2 separate regions of the Homo sapiens genome follow, and region 2 is linked to region 1. The links are contacts of gene promoters, found by promoter capture Hi-C in blood cells and fetal thymus (Javierre and others, 2016). All regions are on one chromosome and are shown on one strand. Each heading gives the region's core, a stretch centred on a gene start or on the middle of the fragment in contact. The rest is flanking DNA. Distances are from core to core; before and after follow the strand shown. Region 1 holds the start of MALRD1-AS1 (MALRD1 antisense RNA 1). Region 2 has its middle 36 kb from the start of PLXDC2.

Region 1 (6,959 bases), core at 301-2,800:
ATTAACTGGGCTCCATATGATTATTTTCCTTTTATACTTTACTTAAGAATTAATAGACTTATAGGCCGGGCGTGGTGGCTCACGCCTGTAATCCCAGCACTTCGGGAGGCCGAGGCGGGCGGATCACGAGGTCAGGAGATCGAGACCATCCTGGCTAACACGGTGAAACCCCGTCTCTACTGAAAATACAAAAAAATTAGCCGGGCGTGGTGGCGGGCGCCTGTAGTCCCAGCTACTTGGGAGGCTGAGGCAGGAGAATGGCGTGAACCCGGGAGGCGGAGCTTGCAGTGAGCCGAGATCGCGCCACTGCACTCCAGCCTGGGCCACAGAGCGAGACTCCGTCTCAAAAAAAAAAAAAAAAAAAAAAAAAAAAAAAAAGAATTAATAGACTTATTAGAAGACACGCAGCCCTGGACTACTTGGTGACAACTGATGAAGAAAAAATGTCCATCGTAGGAACAAAAAAAAGTAACCAAGAACTAAATACACACACACACACACACACACGAAAGGATCCTATACACACATGTGTACACACACACACACATAAGAAAGGATCCTATACATGCATGTGTACACACACACACACACACAATGGAGAATGGAAGACCAATTCCAGGATGATTGTTTTAAGAGCTTAATGACACGAGTAACAAATATATAATGTATGATAATTGTATAACACAATGTATAATGTATGTATAATGTATATTTTTTGCCTATTCAGGATACAGTGAAAATTAATGTTTGTCAGTAATATAATTCTAAATCCCAAAATAAAATGTAGCAAGAAGGGGGCTCTTACTGATTTGATTTCTGAAAACAAATTGCCATAGGCATAACTGCCTATTGTCATCTACCAAACCACATGGTCCTTTTCAAAGAAACTGCAGCATCAGTGAGCCTAACAGTCTAATCTAGCTAATTATGTTTGGCTGGCAATACATTGTCCCTGTGGATTCAGTGTCTTTTAAGCTTCCTGATCTCCACTGGCTTAAATATACAATAGATTAAATGTTTCACCCTCACCGCGGGTACATTTTGCTTATTGATGAATAGGGCCATATGCATCTATTTTGTGGGTTATTATTGAAAAAAGTCTGAATTGAGTCAACAAATATCTGTTAATTCCTTAAGCACTAATTGAATGCTTATTAGTTGCTCTGATTAATTTGAGTAAGTTGTGTTTGACTCTTTGCCTTTACTTTATTCAAGACTAGTCTATGTTAAATTCTCGGAGTAGTAATCTCAGTACATAGCATGGTTAGTGCATGAACTGAGCCAGGGATGATCTTGGAGTTGAGATTGGGTAGGGAGTGAAGTGTAGTTTTGAAATGCATCAAAATACCAAAGCAGGAAAAATTGGACATGGAAGTAGGGATGATCAAAACATAATAGAAATTAGGAACTAAGTAAAGATAAGACAGACACTGACACCAAGAGCTCAGAAAAATTAAGAGGCTGAAATCAGGCATGAAATCAGGAAGCAGGAGGAAACCCAAACCACAGGGCTAGACAGGACAGATGGTCAAAGCCTGAGCATACAACCAGGAGCTGAAGGGACCAGCTTGGCCGTCAGTTGCAAGGGTGTGAGGCAGAAGCAACACAAAAGATCTTGATATGAAGCAATTATTTTTGGTCTTAAACTGCTGGGACTCCAGATGACCCAGACCACGGTCAGCAGGCAGAAGCCAGGTAAATTTATATAATTCTCAGCTCTGTTAATTCAATTATTGAAGCTACTTGTCTTCTGAAAGGGTTTTAAGTCTGAAATAATTTTCTATTAAAATGAAAAAACATTTGAAGGTGTCTGGCCTTCAAGATTTGGGTAACTACAAAGAAGGAAGATGATATTTAAGAGTAAGGATGTGGAGTTGTAATAAAAGAAGAAAGGGTTTCAGTGTGAGTATTGGAAGGTGAGGAATGGCAAATCCTTCCTACTTCAACTTTTGTTTTTTAGTAGTCTCAAATTGCTTTTATTTTTCCTAGATTAAAGATATATCTCCCATTCTTGAAAATCCCTGGACTATTAGACTTAAATTTTAATGTCTTTCCTATTTATTTATAAGGTAAACTATTACACCGTCCACAGATTCTTCCATGAAGGAAATTGCTAGTGTCACTCTATACATTTAGTATTTCAAGTTCAATATTATGATTTTCCATTTTCATCAACTATGTCAATTTGACATTCAAACACAGGCAATTTTACTTAAAATGGTGGATCCTTACATGAGGGAAATAAAATGTTTGTTTCATTATAAAGTTTCCTGCCAGTTCTGAAACTCAATGGTGTAATGATGAGTCTTCATCAGGCCAAAAAAAAAAAAATGCAATGTTTGACTTACTGTATTTGTCAATATGCCGGTAGCTCTTAAGCAGTTGATTTTTTTTCCCCCAATGAATAAGTGAGTTGTAAGAATTGAGGTTCTAAAGAATATAACCACCTCTAGGAATAATGATGATAAAGGAACTGACTTAGAAATTTTGAGTAGAGGAAAGGAAGTTGCATGGATCATATAAGTTTTTCTCCCTTATCATGCATTCATATAAATTATTATTAAGTTTATCTTATATCCATTACGTGCAGATACTGTGCGAAGTGGCATTCTGAATGTGTGACAAGAGACCTAGATCAATGCAGAACTAAGATAATTCTGATGGCAGTTTCCAATTTTAATTTAGCGAGCATATTTATACTTCTAATGGAATTCACTTATTAACTGACAACATTGTTTTAGTGTTGATAAAAGCATGGAAGTGTTTATAATAGTCTGAAACTATTACAAATGGGAAAGGAGAAAAAAAGAATAAAACAAAAACCAATCTATGTTACATCCAGTAAACATGACTTCGAGGTGAATATTTTGTATTTTTATTTTTAACAGCTTTATGGAGCTATAAATCACATGCCATACAATTCACAAACTTAAAGTACACAATTCAATGGTTTTCAGTAATGTTACTTTTATTAATTTTTAATTTTTAAAACAGTGGTATATATCACATAAAATTTGCCATTTTAACCATTTCAAGTATACAATTCAATGCCATTAATTCCACTCACAGTGTTGTGCTACCATTACCACTATTTCCAAAATGTTTTTATAACTCTGAACTGAAGCTCCATGGCCAGTGAGCATTAACACCCCATTCCCCTCCAACCAATCCCAGGTAAATTCTGATTTACCTTCTGTCTTTATGAGACTCGAGGTACCTCACCTAAGTGGAATCATACAGTATTTGTCCTTTTGTGTTTGGCTTATTTCACTTAGCATAATGTTTTCAAGATTCATCCATATTGTAGTATGTATCAGAAGTTTAATCATTTTTATTGCTGAATAATATTCCCTTGCATGTATATGTCACATTTTGTTTATTCATTCACCTGTTGATGGAAATTTGGGTAGTTTCCATCTTTTCACTATTGTGAATACTGCTATGGGGAACATTGCTGCATGAATATCTGTTTAAGTCTCTATTTTGATTCTTCGAGGTATATAACTAGGAGTTGAATTGATAGAACACACGGTAACTCTTTTTTAACTTTTGAGGAACTGCCAAACTGTTTTTGATAGTGCTGCACCATCTTACATTCCCACCAACAATGTGTGAGGGTTTCTATTTCTCCTCATCCTCATCAACACTTGTTATTTTCAGTTTTTAAATTATTATTATTATTGCTATCTCAGTGGATGTGAATTGGTATGTAATTGTGGTACTGATTTTCATTTCCCTAATGACTAGTGATGTTGAACATCTTTTTATGTTCAACTATATGTAATCTTCTTTGAAGAAATGACTATTCTAGTCCTTTGCCCATTTTGAAATTGGGTTGTCTTTTTGTTCTTAAGTTGTATGGATTTTTATATATTCTGGATATTAAACTTTTATCAGATACGTACTTTTGAATATTTTCTACCATTTTGTAGATTGTCTTTTCACTTTCTTGATAATGTCTTTTGTTGCACAAAAGTTTTTGATTTTGATAAAGTCCAATTTACTTATTTATTTTTTGTTGTTGCTTGTGCTTTTGGTGTCATATTTAAGAAAGAATCAATTTCCAAATCCAAGATCATGAAGATTTACCACTATGTTTTCTTTTAAATGCATTATGGCTTTTGCTCTTACATGTAGCTCCTTGATCCATTTTGAGCTAATTTCTGTATGTGGTGTGAAGTAGGGGGTCCATCTGCATTCTTTTGCATTGCAAAATCCAGTTGTCCCAATATCATCTACTGAAGAGACTATTTGATCCCCATTGGATGGACTTGGCATTGTTGTCAAGCATCAATTCATGACAGATGTATAGGATTATATTTGAATTTTCAATTCAGTTCAATTCAATTGATCTATATGTCTGTTCTCATGCCTCATGCCGATACCACACTGTTTTGTTTACTGTACTTTTGTAGTAAATTCTGAAATTTGGAAGTTTGAGTTCTCCAACATTGTTTTGGCTATTTGGTACCCTTGCAATTTATAAATTTGAGAAGAGGTTTTTCACTTTTGCAAAAATGGCTGTTGGAATTTTCGATAGAGATTGCCTTGAATCTGCAGGTTGCTGTATTAGTCTGTTCTCATGCTGCTGTGAAGAAATACCTGAGCCTGGGTAATTTATAAAGGAAAGAGGTTTAATTGACTCACAGTTCCACAGGCCTGGGGAGGCCTCAGGTAACTTACAATCATGGCAGAAGGGGAAGCAAATATGCCCTTCTTCACACAGTGGCAGCCAGAAGTGCAGAGCAAAAGCCGGAAAAGCCCCGTCTAAAGCCATCAGACCTTGTGAGAACTTACTCACTATCCTGAGAATAGCAGCATGAGGGTAACCACCCCCATGCTTAGATTACCTCCCACTAGGTCCCTCCCACGGCTTGTGGGGATTATGGAAACTAGAATTCAAGATGAGATTTGGGTGGGGACATGGAGCCAAACCATATGAGTTGCTTTAGTTAGTATTAACGTCTCGACAATATTGTCCTCCTTTCCATGAACTTAGTGTGTCATTCCATTTAGTTAGGTCTTATTTAATTTCTTTCAATAATGCTTTGTGATTTTAAGTGTATAAATCTTTCACCTCATTGGTTAAATTTATTCCCAGGTATTTTATTCTTTTAGATGCTATTGTCAACAGAATTGCCTTCAAGATTCCTTTTCTGATTGTTCATTGCTGGTATGTAGTAATACAACTGATTTTTAAGTGTTGCTCTTATACCTTGTAACTTCTCTGAATTTGTTTATTTGCTCTAGTAGCTTTCTTGTGGATTCTTTGAGATTGCTTATATATAGTATCATGCCATTTATGAATACTGAAGTTTATGTCTTCTTTTCCAATTTGAATGCGTTTTACTTCCTTTTTTCCCATTTCCTCTGGCAAAAGTTTATTTTTGATAACTACATTTATCCCTAGCTTAGTGGGGCTATAAAACTTCCTTAATGTAAACAATTTAAAGCTAGTGTATAGGAAAATTATGATGGCAATGTTGGACAGTTTCAGGGTGTAGTCTCATTGCCACTTAAAGTGAACATCTTTGGACTAGATAAGTGAATAAACCTTTATCTGGGTTGAAAGGAAACAAAGGTGACAGTGAGACTAGCTGTCACTCCGAATGCTGAAGTGTCTAGGACAGAGTGACAGCACAATGTTCCTGCTGAGAGGCCTGTCCTTCAAAATGAACATCTTTTTACACACATTGCAAGTTTGTTAATTTTTAAAATACACTTTTATAATTTGTTTCAGTGAGTGTTTTCTATTAACTTTATTTACTAAATTGATTGCCATTTTTGGTGATAAATGGGTGATTTAATTTCTTTATGTTAACTACAGATGTGTGCTTCCCCCTCCCGCCAATTTACCAGTAAGTCACTTGGTGTGTCTGTAAAACTGCTCAGGCTGCTTAGTGAAACTCACCGGACACCTAGTTTCCATTACCATCTCATGGGAGTAACACTGTTACAATAGTTCATATTTAAAATTAGGTTTAGAAAATATTCAAAGAAAAATGAGCTCAAAAGCTTAAATTTTTTTATTTTTTATTTTTAGAGACAGAGTCTCACTCTGTTGTCCAGGCTTGTATACAGTGGTGTGATCATAGCTCACTGCAGCCTTGAACTCCTGGGCCCAAGCGATCCTCCTGCCTCAGCCCCCTGAGTTGCTGGGACTATAGGTGCATGCCAACACACCTGGCTAATTTTAAAACTGCTCAAGCTGCTTAGTGAAATTCACCAAACACCTAGTTTCTACTACTATCTCACGGGAGTAATACTCTTGCAACATGTTCATATTTAAAAGTAGACTTAGAAAATACTCAAAGAAAACTTAGCTCAAAAGTTCAAATTTTTTTATTTTTTATTTTTAGAGACACATTCTCACTCTGTTGCCTAGGCTGGTTTACAGTGGTGTGATCATAGCTCACTGCAGCCTTGAACTCCTGGGCCCAAGCGATCCTCCTGCCTTGGTCTCCTGAGTTGCTGGGACTATAGGTGCATGCCAACACACCCGGCTAATTTTTTTAATTTTTTGTAGAGATGGGGTCTTGCTATATTGTCCAGTCTGGTCTTGAACTCAAAACTCCTGACCTCAAGCAATCCTCTCATCTTGGTCTCCTAAAGCACTGGGATTATGGGTGTGAGCCACTTTGCCTGACCTGAGCTCAAAACTTTAGCACAGATTTTTTTAAGTGAAAGGGAATACCATTTGTGAGGGTCATGGATGATTATTTCTGTCGTATTTTGGTGGATTGTGTTATAAAACTTCAGTGTCAAAACCTGTCCACTCGAAAGTATGAAGAATCATACTGTCTGAAATTAGGATAATTACAATGCAGCTGTCAAATGATGTTAATGGATAAACATAATAATTTATCTATCAAAAGATATTTTCCCTGTATTTCGTGTGTGGAGGCATTGGTTCTCATGCTTCCATGAGTGAAATGATTTCTAAACACTGTTTCTAAGAT
Region 2 (6,415 bases), core at 316-2,815, 53 kb before region 1:
TGGAAACAACTTGATCAAAAATCTGCCACAGAATTTTGAGACCCATTATAACAACATTTAATGAGAAAAAATTATATAGTAATCACTCACGTTTAACTTATGTACCTTTTCTAGAACTTAAAAAGTCTGGATTAGAATATAGATAGCTATGTTTATTTCTTAGCTCTCATTTCAGAATCACAAGTTCCTCGAAGTTATAATGTGGGTTGATTTGTTTGTTACCTGATGTTCCTACACTATATATTAAGTATTCTAGGTGCTGCTGCAAAATATTAGTTGACATTACTAATTAATTAACTTCAGACTTAAAAATTATACACGGCAAATTATTTAACGTAGTCACTAAATTAAACCTTTTTAACATTCAAGAGCAATCCATGTTTGCTAAAGAATATTGAGAATATTTAGAATAGAGTATAAGCCATAATAAGAAATCAAAATTGTTCATAGGTTCACAAATAAGAGATGCATTTGTTCATTCAACATTGTTCACCACCACAAGGGTTTAGGCTGGTCCCTTTGGGTACAGAGCTCAGACAAGCCCTACATTCACAATGCCTACGTTCCCATGGTGGGAGACAAACTGCAAACAAAATGAGCAAACAAAACCATAAAACTTGGAAGCAGTATGTTCTGGGGCAAAGATCACGAAGTGGGAAAGAATTTGATGTATGTGAAGCTTTTGTAGCTGAAGCAGAGGATGAGAATGGAATGAACATGTAGATGTTCACGAGGGCCAGTGTTAGGAAGTTGAATTTTTACTGTTAAGTACAAAAGGAAGCCATTGAAAGCTTTTAGATAGGGAACTAATGTCGCGTTATTGGAAGGAAATAAACCCCCCAAACAGGAAGGCAAAACCAAACCAAACCACACTGATTGCTATAAGGATGGTGGGGGAGCAAAACTGGATCAAAAGAGCTCCAACAGGAAGCAGCTGCAATAGTGCGTCTATCTAAGAGATGATGTGGCTTATGTTAAGGGGATAGCAGAGGAGGAGAGAAGATGATACAGTCAAGATGTATTTGGGAAATAGAACTAAGAAGACTTGCTGATAGACTGGAAGGGGGTAGGAGGAGAGAAGAATGATCCTGGGATATTTTACTGGAACACAAAGTGGACAAGAGTTCTGTTTCCTGAGATGGCAAGGGCTGACGGAGAGTTAGTGTGGCAGAGACCTGTGCTTTTCATGCATTACCAATACTCCCTTTCTTTCTTGGTGTCAGAATTCAGATTTTATTAAGGATGGGAATGGATCCAGCCAAAATCCATTGCTGCCTTCCCTTTCTTGAAGCTAGGTATGTGGCCTTCAGCTGGGTTATGGACAATGAGATACACATACTCAGAAGTATCATGTGAGATTTCTATAAAGGTGTTTGAGACTACATGATGTGACCCTTTTGTATTAAAGCTAAGCATACGTTCATCTGAAAACGTAGCACTTCTTTTCTTAGATAAATATCTAGCAAAAAATGCATACATATGTTTACCACAAGGCAAGTCCAAGAATATTTAAAACAGCACTCTTTCTATAACTTCAAATTAGAAACAGGCCAAAATGCCCATGAACAAATAGAATGGATAAGTAATTTTTGGCATATTCATTCACAATGAAAACTGCTGCAAAATGCCACAAGATGAATGAATTTCACAAATATAATGTTAAACAAAAAGCAAGATACAAAAGAATACATATTATTTCATTTACAAAGGACAGTAACTAACATATGATGTAGGAAGTCAAAGAGTAGATAGCAATGGGAAGGCGGTGGGGTTGATGATTGGGAGAAGCCATTGGGGGAGGTTTTAGGGGTACTGGTGATGGTCCATGTTTTTATATGAGTGCTGTTTTCATAAGTCGTCATTCACTTGGCAGAGTGTCAAATATAATAGGCATTCATTAAAGACATGTGTTGAATAAACTTGTTGAATTTAAGGTGAGAAGGAGTTTTACCAGTGAGAAAATAGCTGTTGTATTATTGCAGTACTCCATAATAATTTATACTCCTACTGAAACAAAAATAACAAACGTGGTTAGGTTGTGCTTCACATATTCTTTTTAAAGCAAGAAAATATTTGTCAACCATATATATTTTCCACATTTTGAATATTTAAATTTGCAAATTCCTAATTTCTGGAAAATTTCTTATTCAGATTATTTCTTCCCTGATTATTCTAGATTAATGAGGTAGTGGGGGTGAAAACATGTACATTGGTCACTAAATGTGTTTCTTGTGGTAATATCCAAGACAAAATGGTTTTCATTAAATTTCAGAAATGCAATGTTAAAGTTAACTCTAGAAGTTTTAGAAAGTGCCAGGAGAGAAAAATAGGAAAGCTTAAAAATGTCCCTAAAATGATAAGGCTTTCAACTCCACACTAATAGATTCTGAAGAATAAATTGGAATGCTTGGGAACTGTTACATGACAAATGAGAGTACAAATATTTTCTTTTTCTAAATGTGCTAAGAAAAACAAACAAACAGAAAGATAAATACTTCCTGAAGAACAACTAAGCCATAGAAATTCAGAACATTTCAAATTTATGAGATATTAAAGCCAGGAAGTATTGCACATGAAATAAATTCTAATAATCTTAGAAAAAAATTATAATAATCTTTTGTCTCCATGGTAAAGGAAGGTGATGGATTTCAAAGGGAAAGGAAAAAAAAAAAAACACATTTGCACTTTCATGTTCTTCTTTCCTATAACTAAATTTCAGATTTTCTACTTGCAGAAATGGAGTGAATTCCCTTTTGTATTATAAGGTTAAGGAAGAAGGAAATCATTTGAACTCTCGATTATACTTTGAAGTGGACTCTGATTGTAATAATACTTTATAAACATTCAAACATCCCCAAAAGGCTATTAATAAATAGTTATCTTAGATTTAACAACAAACAAGAACCCCCTAATGTTTCCTAACTACAGATTACATTTCCAGTTCCATTTAGCCAGCCCCGCAAGGGTGCTCCTATTTAGAGGAACCAGGGGAGAGAGCAAATAATTTAATTCAGTGCAACCCATTCAACTCATTGAAAAACTACTCAAAGCATGGGACTTACCAATGGGTATCTATAGTGTCATTGATTGTTTGTTATTATTACTATGGAATGTACATTATGAGAGGCCACTGGAACTCATAGTTCAGAATACAAATTCTAGAGGCAGATAGAGTTTGAATGCTGCCTTCACCACTTTTAAGCTGTGAATTTGGGTAAATTGCTCAACTACTGAGGGCCTCAAAGTCATTAACTGAGAAATGGGAATAACAGAGTCATATGTCACTTCTTGATGGGAATACATTCTGAGATATGCATCGATAGGTGATTTCGTTGTTGACAAACATCCTTGGGTGTACTTACACAAACCTAGATGGTAGAGCCTCCTACACATCCAGGTTATATGGAATGAATAGTCTGTTGCTCCTAGGCTACAATATCGCACAGCATGTTATTGGACCGAATGCTATACGCAATTGTAACACAATGAAAGTATTCATGTGTCTGAACATAGGAAAGGTACAGTAAAAGTATAGTATATAAGAAATAGTACACCTATATAGGGCAGTGACCATGAAAGGAGGTTGCGGAATTGGAAGTTGCACTGGGTGAGTCCATGAGTGGGTGGTGAGCAATGGCCTAAGACATTAATGTACACTACTGTAGCCCTTATAAACACTGTATACCCAGACTACGTTATTCAAAAATATTTTTCTTTCCTCATTAATAAATTAACCTTAGCTCACTGTAATGATTTACTATATAAATGTTTGATTTCTAAATTTTTGTCTCCTTTGCAATAACACTTAGCTTTAAAACACAAATACATTGTACGACTGTCCAAAAATGTTTTCTTTTATTATATCCTTATTCTACAAGCTTTTTTTTTCTTTTTAAAATTTTTCATTTTTAAATTTTTTACTTTTGAATTGCTTTTGTTGAAAATTAAGACACAAACACACATATTGATCTAGGCCAATACAGGGTCAGAATCACCAATTTCACTGTCTTCCACCTCCACATCCTGTCCCACCTGGAAGGTCCTTGGGGGTAATAATATGTATAGAAGTGTCATCTCCTGCATAAACAGTGCCTTCTCCTGGAATACTCCCTGAAATATATGCCTGAGGCTGTTTTATAGTTAACGTTTTTTAAGTAGAAAGAGTACACTCTATAATAATAATAAATAGTATGGTAAATGCATAAACCAGTAATAACATTGTTTGTTATCACTAGCAAGTATTATGTATTATACATAGATATGCTATATGTGCTGTATTTTTACATTACTGTCAGCACAATAGGCTTGTTTACACCAGCATCACCACAAACATGTGAGTAATGTGTTTCACAATGACATTAGGATAGCTACAGTGTCCCTAAGCCATAGGAAGTTTTCAGCTGCATTATAATATTATGAGACCACTTTTATTTATGCAGTCTGTCTTCCACCAAAACATTGATGGGAAGCACATGACTGTCTATTTACCTCATGGAACTACGAAGATTAATGAGTTACATGTAAAACATGTGCTTATTATCTAGCACCTAGTAAGTTCTAACAAATGTTAATTATCATCATTGTCACTTTTCTTGCTATTAGTCTGTAACCCAGAGAATAGGAAAGGTCAGAGACTTACAAACTTTGTCCTAAGAAAGAGGGATGCACGAGTCATAATTACATTGATCCAAGTAATCACAGCATCCCCTAGGGCTGCTGTGGGAGCAGAGCGTGGAAGAAAGAATCAGTCGCCAAAATTGCTTTCTCCATCACTTCCTGGTCTAAGCGGGAGTCTTCCACTACCACTGGGGCAGTTACAGCTCTTCCTATGGATGATGGGAAAAGACATGGGAAGCCCCACTACCTGCTGGACCAATCACTGTGAGGCTGAGAGATAAGACCTTGAGGCTAGGTGATGTGAGATGCATGATAATGACTGAGCAATGGGCAGAGAACCCAAGTGAGGACAGTGAGGGGAAAATGAGACTCCTGCTGAGTCTGCCATACCTCCAACAACTTTAAGGAGCTCTTTTTTTTTTTTTGATTGTGTGTTTGTTTTTGATACAGAGTCTCACTCTGTCACCCAGGCTGGAGTGCAATGGCACCATCTCAGCTCACTGCAACCTCCACCTCTTGGGTTCAAGTGATTCTCCTGCCTCAGCTTCCTGAGTAGCTAGGATTACCTTCCAAAGACTCTACCTCCAAATATTATCACACTGAGAAGTAGGTTTTCAACATATGAATTGTGAAGCAAAACAAACATTTAGTCCATTCTATGTATGTATGTGTGTGTGTGTGTGTGCACACACGCGCATATGTGTGTGTGTATATCTGGTTTCTTTTGCTAGGTAGGGTAGTGAGGGAGGAATAAGTAAACATAATGTGTCCTTATGCTTTTGATAAGGGTAAATTAATTCAACTTTCTAAGCTTCTCCCCTCTTTTTTATTTGTCTAAACATAGAATTTGTTTTGCCCAATGAGTCAGTTATGACGGGCCTGTCAAACACAGGAATAGACTGTTGCCAAATAGCCTCCAAAAAGCAAGTGCTGCTTTACAATATGAATGCATGCCAGCACAAATGCTCCTATATCGAAGCACTGAGCCAATATTTCTTAAAACCTATAGTAGACTATATGTTTTACATCAAGTTTAAAACAAAACAACAGTAATGAAGAACCCCAAATGCATTCTATGTAAGGCAGCATACTTAGCCTTGTTGTGGATAGAAAGACATGCAAAGACCCTACTCTCTAGGTACACAGAAAGAAAGTAAAAACACTGAGGAATGAGAGATATATTCATTCCTGCCATGCAAACCTGTGAATGTGAGCCATTCGTTTACCCCCTCTTGGTGAGCCCCAGTTTCCCATACATTCTCAAGTCCCAGGGTTGATCTGAGATAACGTGGTGGTTTTTCTTACTCTTGAAATTCTTGAAATCAATCTGACTAGAATGTATGCACAAGAAACGTAGGCAATAATGGCAAAACATAAGGGAGGTTAAGTGTGCAATGAGTGTTATCGCTACCGTGAGAATCCAGGGCAAAGAGTTCACTGCAGGCTGAGAGGTGGAGGAGAGGCTTCCTGGAGAAGGGAGGACTTCACTGGAAACTTCAAGACAGAGTACGAGATGGATAAACAGTGAAGACAGGATAGGGAGGTTCATTTGGTTGATGTGGCAGTAGGATTGTAGGTGATAAAGATGGAGGGTAATGACATGAGAAGAAAGTTTTGTTGAAAATTAAAAACCACAAGATAAGTTTGGGAAAATACGCTGCAACTTGTCTATGATTCACTCATTCCCCACTTTTCTGTGAAAAATCTCAAACAAAGAAGCATGATGCCTTGTGAGATGAACTCATTCTGGCAAGGTTATTAATTACTTATTTTCATAATTTTCTAATTGTGTTATATA

What was found. Contacts are between HindIII fragments. The CHiCAGO score rates a contact against its expected background, and 5 or more counts as called.
Region 2: a contact is called between a fragment that was not itself captured here and the fragment with the promoter of MALRD1-AS1 in region 1, in 1 of 17 cell types (megakaryocytes). The highest score is 6.7, in megakaryocytes.

What each region holds. Positions count from the first base shown.
Region 1 is chr10:19,723,141-19,730,099 of GRCh38, reverse strand. MALRD1-AS1 (MALRD1 antisense RNA 1) reads left to right here and starts at 1,550. Exons shown (of 5, transcript NR_120646.1): 1 at 1,550-1,695. All of the region lies in intron 38 of MALRD1 (MAM and LDL receptor class A domain containing 1), which reads right to left. RefSeq lists a silencer at 5,473-5,673. The HindIII fragment of the contact is 5,040 bases long and covers 978-6,017 here.
Region 2 is chr10:19,777,118-19,783,532 of GRCh38, reverse strand. No RefSeq gene overlaps it. Among named protein-coding and RNA genes, the nearest start is that of PLXDC2, 36 kb to the left of the region's middle. The HindIII fragment of the contact is 1,544 bases long and covers 794-2,337 here.